Regions from separate parts of the Homo sapiens genome. Here region 1 is linked to region 2. The links are contacts of gene promoters, found by promoter capture Hi-C in human tissues and cell types (Jung and others, 2019). All regions are on one chromosome and are shown on one strand. Each heading gives the region's core, a stretch centred on a gene start or on the middle of the fragment in contact. The rest is flanking DNA. Distances are from core to core; before and after follow the strand shown.

Region 1 (3,251 bases), core at 202-2,701, 620 kb after region 2:
CCAGAATTCTTTTATGTGAAAGGAAAAAAATAAATATCTATCTTGATTAAGACTCTGATATTTTAGAAGTTCTGTTATAATCAGCCAAATCTATTCATAGTCCAAGCCCCAGTGTTACAAATAAGGAGATTGAGGCTTTGAAAGACAAAATATCTGCCCACGGTCATCAAGTGAGCTGAATCTTTCAGAGTCTAGATCTGCACTGGGTTGTTCTTTCTTGTGCTCACAACTTCTGCATGTGCGTTTGCTCTTGTGCCTACCTCAGGAGGGGGACGAATGTGTTGTCATTCTCTCCCTATCTGCAGGATATCCTCTGCAAGCAATGCAATACCCAGAATTTTCTAGTCACTTTCTCGCCAAAAGTCACTCAAATCATAGACAGTTGGCAGTCATGGTTCTCAGACAGAACCCCCAAAGAAATCCAGAGGGTGGGCTTCTGCACCTCAGACAACTGGTCAACCAGGACCAAGACAACTGAGTCCAGAGGACCGTGAGTGAGTCAGGCAAAACCCCAGGGACATTGCCACGGAGGGCTACTGCTGGATTGGCTCCCTCGCCCCACCCAGACCGCCCCCGCCCAAAGCAGCACCTTGGGAAACATGCGGAAGATCTCCTGGTTGATGTGGTAGATGCCACTGGTGTCCACCTCATACTTGAGCTTTGTCCCCAGGGGAGTGTTCTTCTGGGTGGTGAAGAGAAAGGCAGGGGCGTTGCAGCACCTGGACAGAGTAGACCTGCCAGGCAGGGAGACAGGCAGGAAAGACGTGATGCAGGAAAGATGTGATGGAGGGCAGAGCACAACCTCACGGAGAACAGAGGGGTGGAGCCGAGGCCTCTCCTGCTCACCTATCCCACGCTTGCCCCCACCCTGCATGGAGCCGAGGCCTCTCCTGCCCACCCATCCCACACACATCCCCACCCTGCATGGAGCCGAGGCCTCTCCTGCCCACTCATTCCCAGGCTTGCCCCCAACCTACACCTCTGCTCATGCAGTCCCCTCCCTTTTCAACGCCTCTCCCAAGGCCCCTGCCTTCTGCCACTCATTCAGGGCCCAGGCCAGGCTTCTTTCCATGAAGCCCCACCCAGCTGCCCCTGTCTGCACTGTATGGAACTCCTCGACGGAGCCTGAGTCCTGGCCACTAATAGAGGGTAAGGAGGAGCTTTCCAAAGAGCTCCCAGCCAGGCCTGGCATGGAAACTTGGGCTGCCGTCCTGGTGTCAAGAGGCCTGGATTCTTGCTTCTGCTCTGCCCCGACCAGTTGTGAGGCTACTGGAAGGTCTCTCTCTTTCTCTCTGGGCCCTAGTTTCCTCATACAGGCTTGGCTCTTCTACCTCTAATCCTCTGTAATTTGTGATTCCAGCTTGCAAAAGCCAGGAATGTTTTATGATTTTTTTTTTTTTTTTTTTGAGACAGGGTCTCACTCTGTCACCCAGGTTGGAGTTCAATGGTGCGATCTCGGCTCACTGCAATCTTCGCCTCCTGGGTTCAAGTGATTCTTCTGCCACAGCCTCCCAAGTAGCTGGGATTACAGGCAAGCACCACCATGCCTGGCTAATTTTTTTTTTTTTTTTTTTTAGTAGAGTCAAGGTTTCTCCATGTTGGCCAGGCTGGTCTCGAACTCCTAACCTCAGGTGATCCACCTGCTTCAGCCTCTCAGACTCCCAAAGTGCTGGGATTACAGGTGTGAGTCACCATGCCTGGCCTATAATGTTTTTTTTTTTAATTTCATCTCTTGCAGGTACTTCACTGGGAAGCCTAGCTGGCTCCCAGTCACAGAGAGCAGAATTTCCTGTGGAGAGCTGGGTTTCAGAATGTAACAGAAGCTTCCCAGAGAGGAGACCAGAGGCCTGGCAAGGCAGGGCCATGGATTGGCATTACAAACTGGCATCTGGGCCTTTTAGCTTTGCTAGTTCAGAAGCTCAGTCTTGTCAGCCCACTGGAGATCACTCCTATTGAGGGATACTGACTCACACTAACCAAGCTCATAAGTGACTGATATACAAACCAGAATGTCAGTGTGCCTATTTGTAGGCAGCAGGGTGGGAGAAGGCCTGTTACAGGATTCATTTCCTGTAATTCGAAAGCTCATGCCTGCCTTCTAGCACCCACCTGACACTCCCTCATGGCACCAGGTTCCTGCCAGCCTGAATGAAGCATCTCATCATTGTTCCATGAGCTTGAAATGAGAGCAAAGGGAGGCAATGACCAGCCTGGAAGGTTTTCTCACTTAGAGCATGGCAAGGCCTGATGTCACTGCCTTTTCTCACACCTGAAACTGCTCCACACCCCTCATGCCCAGAGCTCCACCCCTGCACTGTGCTGTCTTGTCCCTGCCAAAGGCTCCCACACTCATCCCTGTTTTTCTCTTGCCACATCATTTCCCTATTGCTTCATGTTTCCTGAGATATGTGAGTCCTGCTGCTGAGACTTTTTTTTTTTTTTTTTTGAGATGGAGTCTCGCTCTGTCGCCCAGGCTGGAGTGCATTGGCATGATCTCCACTCACTGCAACCTCCACCTCCCGGGTTCAAGCAATTCTCCTGCCTCAGCCTCCCAAGTAGCTAGGATTACAGGTGTGCACCACCACACCTGGCTAATTTCTTTGCATTTTTAGTAGAGACAGGGTTTCACCATGTTGGCCAGGCTGATCTTGAACTCCTGACCTCAGGTGATTCACCCGCCTTGGCCTCCCAAAGTGCTGGGATTATAGACGTGAGCCACCATGCCTGGTCCACTGCTGAGACTTCTATTCTGCCCTAAGTCTGGACAACAGGCTTTTGCCTCTCACTGACCTGGTCCAGGCTGAGTGTTTTATCAGCCATACTCTCAGTGTGTCAGGTCTCACTCGCCCCCAGGGGCACCTCTGTGCAGTGTGCACAGTAACATTTCTAAGGGGCCAATTGGCAGCACAGATTATGGTTCTATTCTCTACTCTCCCAGCACTTTGCTCAAGCTCATGTTCTGTTTCTTATGATAGGTGAGTCTCTGCAAACTACTGTCAGGCCTTTGCTTGGTTTCTGTAGTCTCCCAGAGGCCTCTGGCACCTGATCTTCAAGTGTTATCACTTTAAACATTCGCATTTCTAAAAATGTGCCTCTTAAAACTACTACTCTACCTCTAGACTTGGTCTGGAGCTGCAGCAAATTGGAACAAATGATTTATAAAGAAAAAGCTTAGTCATCTTTGCTTTTCACAATCTTGTGCAGGACTCCTTCATGCTTAGAGCTCCTCAGTACATTTAAACTTGGACCTG
Region 2 (3,415 bases), core at 415-2,914:
CTCAAACTCCTGGCCTCAAGCAATCCTCTTGCCTCAGCCTCCCAAGTAACTATATCTACAGGCATGCACCACCATGCCCAGCTAATTTTTAAGATTTTTTTGTAGAGACAGACAGAGTCTCACTATGTTGCCCAGGGTGGTCTCGAACTCCTGGCCTCAAGCAATCCTCCTACCTCGGCCTCCCAACGTGCTGGGATCACAGGCATGAGCCACTGTGCCTGAACTAAATACTGTTAGTATCACGTCTGCCTCCTTCTCCTTATGTCTCCACGAACCAGTTCCTCTGCTGACTTCCTTATTTCTGGGGCCCACATCTCATTCTCCAGTTTGTATTATACAGAGCCTTTTTCCCACAGTGCCTGCCATGGGATCCCCCAGTCCTCCATTCTACCTGAAAAACTCGCAAGCCTCCCGTGAGAGCCATCTGTGGTGCCCTTGGTTCCTCTGTGAGGCTGCCACCACCCTGCACCCTAGGGTGAGTAGTGCCCCAGAAGGACCTCACAAACTCCAGTGAAGGGACTCACAGGCACAGTCTCAACTGTGTCCCTGAGGTCCCCAGCCAGGTTTCTCTACCCTGCAGCCCACGTGGGGTAGAGGGACCATCTAGGCAGCTGTGAAGCTACCTGGGTGGGTGGTGGGGGGAGGCAAGCAGGAGCCCCAGTAAGGAGTCAGGGCCCCTTGGCAGCTGCGGTCAACTTTGAGGTTTGCAGCCTCCTGCTCCTGTCTTAAAGGGATGAGGACAGCTCCTCTGAATGAGGGGGCATGGACCTTGAGGGGCACCTGGGGAGTGAGAGGACAGAGGGAAGAGGACTAGACAGAGGAGGGGGACAGGCAGACCTGCTCCCTCCAGGCTGGGCTGGCCCTACCGGGCTGGGTGGGGTACCCCCTCCAGCTTATAGGGTCTCCCACACCATCAGCCCCGCTATGGGGCCTGGACGGAAGGGCTGGGGCAATGGCCTGGGGAGGGGGCTCGGGAAACAAGGCTGTAGAACAGGGAAAGCTCCAGCAAAGGGAAGCCCTCTATGCTGTACGTTTCCTGGAAAGGACGATCCCGGGGGGCAGCTGCTGCTGTCAACCCGGTAAAGCTCACAAGCCCCCACACCAGATCCCCCCAGATCCTCTCACGGCTCAGCTCCAGGGACCGGCAGAGACTCTCCCCGGACGGGTCTCGCCTCCCTAAGGGTCTCTGCTTCGCCTGTGAGAGGAGGGGTTGATGTCCTGACTCTAAGGTGTCTCGGCTCTCTGCGTCCTCAGGAGCACGCGCTGCTGGGGGCGCGGGCGGCAGAGGGTGGGCCCTGGAGTCCGAGCCCCCGGGACTCGCGGGCACGCGGTGGGTAGCGGGGGACAGAGAGGGAACAGCAGCCCGGCGTCCGCTCCAAGTCTGCCCCTCGAGCAGTGGGGCTGGGGCCCCGATCCCTTCACGCGCGAGCTCCGCCAAGCCCCCGGGCGCGCGGTCACCGAGTGGCGCCGGAGCTGGGGAGCCCCCCACGCCCGCCGCGTTGGCCTCCCGCCCGGGCCGGGTCCTGAGCCCCGCGATCCGCTGTCGGCCCCACGACTTACCCAAAAGTTTCCCTTGAACAGTGAGCGCGTCATCGCAGCGCGAGTGGGGGCGCGGAGGAGAGCCGGGCCGCAGGTAGCACAGAGCGGGGAGGCCTGACTGCCACTGCCCGCGGCTCCGCAGACTCAACTTCTGCGTTCCACACTCGCGCAGGGAAGCCGCCCCCGGGTCCTAAACCACTCCCGATTGCGACGGCCGCCGTCGGCGCTCTGCGCTCCCTGCGCGAGACCTGGGCGGGACCCTCGGCGCTCACCCGGCCAGGGGCTGCAGCCCGCACCCGGACCCAGGCCCATTTAAAGCCCCACAGCGTCGGGCCACGATCAATATATCAGCCCGAAGCTAGCTGCCTCCTTCTGGAAGTCTTTGGGTATTGGAAATAACTGGTCCTGGCTTGGGTTCCTGCCCACAAGGCCCCCTGGACAGCACGAAATCCAGGCTCTGCGGGGTGATAGACGGGATCTGATCAGATGGTCGCGAGGACCCGGTTTAAGCTACAGAAGGCCTGGGGCCGACAACTCCCGCAGACGCCTTGGCTTCACGGCGGGCCCCACCGGCACCTGCTGCAGATCAGGCCCTGGGGGACGGTTCATTTTTTATTTTACTTTTTGTTGTTGCAGGTGTTTTTAATGAATGGGGTCACGTTTTAGTCTAAAATGTCATGGAGAGGTCATCTCTGCTGTTTCCCCTTGACTCTAGTCACTTGGTGGTGTCCTAACAGGGCTTCCAGGAGCTCAGCCGCTCTCTGACTCCCTTTCCATTCTCAAAAGGCAAGACCCTTCCCTGCCCATTCCACCCCAGCAAGAGGGGCCCAAGATTCCTTCTTCTCCCTCCACTCTTCCACCCTCACAAATAAAACCCCAGGGCAGGTCAGACCCCTCTCTGCATTGTAGTAGATTGGTACAAAAGTAATTGCGGTTTTTGCCATGACTTTTAATAGTAATGCAGGGCTTATGACAAAGTACTGCCTGGTGCGACAGGCCCGAAGCCCAACCTGAGGCCCAGAGGGGTTGAATGGCTTGCCCAAGATCACAGTTTATTTAAGGGATGAAGAGCTCAAGGTTAGAGCTCTGCCCTTCTAAATAGATGCAAAGACAGACATCCTTCCTGGGGCAGATCCATCCTGGGCAGAGGAATAGGTGCTCAAAGTGGGGAGGATAAAGGTCAAGGTTGCCAAGACTGGCACCAGCCCAGCCTGGAGAAGCAAGCACTCACCCCTGGAGCAGGTTCTAGCTACACCCAGACACAGTGAAAGGGCAATTGCTAGAATTATGTGAAGCACCTGGAACAAGTTCTGCTCCATAAAACTGCAGCCAGCCCCACTCAGATGAACTCCCACCAATAAAGTCATCCACAACTGCAAAGATGGAGAGGTGGCCTCCAGCCACCAAGCATCTCCAAGGGATGCATCCATTTACGTACTTGCTCATATCCTTTGAAAGCAGTGAGATTAGAAGGAAGGCAGAGAAGCCTGGCAGAACCATCAAGGGGCAGCAGAGGACGTGGTAGGCACTAGGAAGCTAGGCTTAACTGCAGGGGGTAAGAAATGGCACAAACTGGGGACATAGAAGCGGGAGAGCTGAAGACACCACTAAGGTTTTTCCTGGAAGTTTTAAATATTCTGGAAAAATAGTTTAGATACAATTCTAATTGTCACATTTTAATTTTTAATACATGTATAATTTTAAGTTATTAGAACGTTTCACAAGCTCTCACAGTACATTGTGCTTGATTTTCGCGACTCAGACTCTAAGCTCCCTGAATTTTAACCCTCTTCCGCCATCTGGTGACAAAGTTTTTAATTGCAAATGGTCATCCACGCTGCTGGAAAATATTCTTCATTCCTCAAACAGCTCATCT

The links. The method cuts DNA at HindIII sites, captures the fragments that hold promoters and counts their contacts. A contact is called where the count stands out against the background at its distance.
Region 1: a fragment that was not itself captured here is called in contact with the fragment with the promoter of PSTPIP2 in region 2 in 1 of the 25 tissues and cell types used here (heart left ventricle).

Annotation. Positions count from the first base shown.
Region 1 is chr18:46,688,186-46,691,436 of GRCh38, forward strand. ST8SIA5 (ST8 alpha-N-acetyl-neuraminide alpha-2,8-sialyltransferase 5) reads right to left here. Exons shown (of 7, transcript NM_013305.6): 4 at 590-734. Among named protein-coding and RNA genes, the nearest start is that of LOXHD1, 33 kb to the left of the region's middle. The HindIII fragment of the contact is 3,606 bases long and covers 1-3,251 here.
Region 2 is chr18:46,070,596-46,074,010 of GRCh38, forward strand. It overlaps PSTPIP2 (proline-serine-threonine phosphatase interacting protein 2), which reads right to left and starts at 1,665. Exons shown (of 15, transcript NM_024430.4): 1 at 1,561-1,665. The coding sequence starts at 1,593. RefSeq lists enhancers at 151-250, 291-350, 1,570-2,071 and silencers at 1,201-1,580, 1,621-1,670, 1,801-1,960. The HindIII fragment of the contact is 22,245 bases long and covers 1-3,415 here.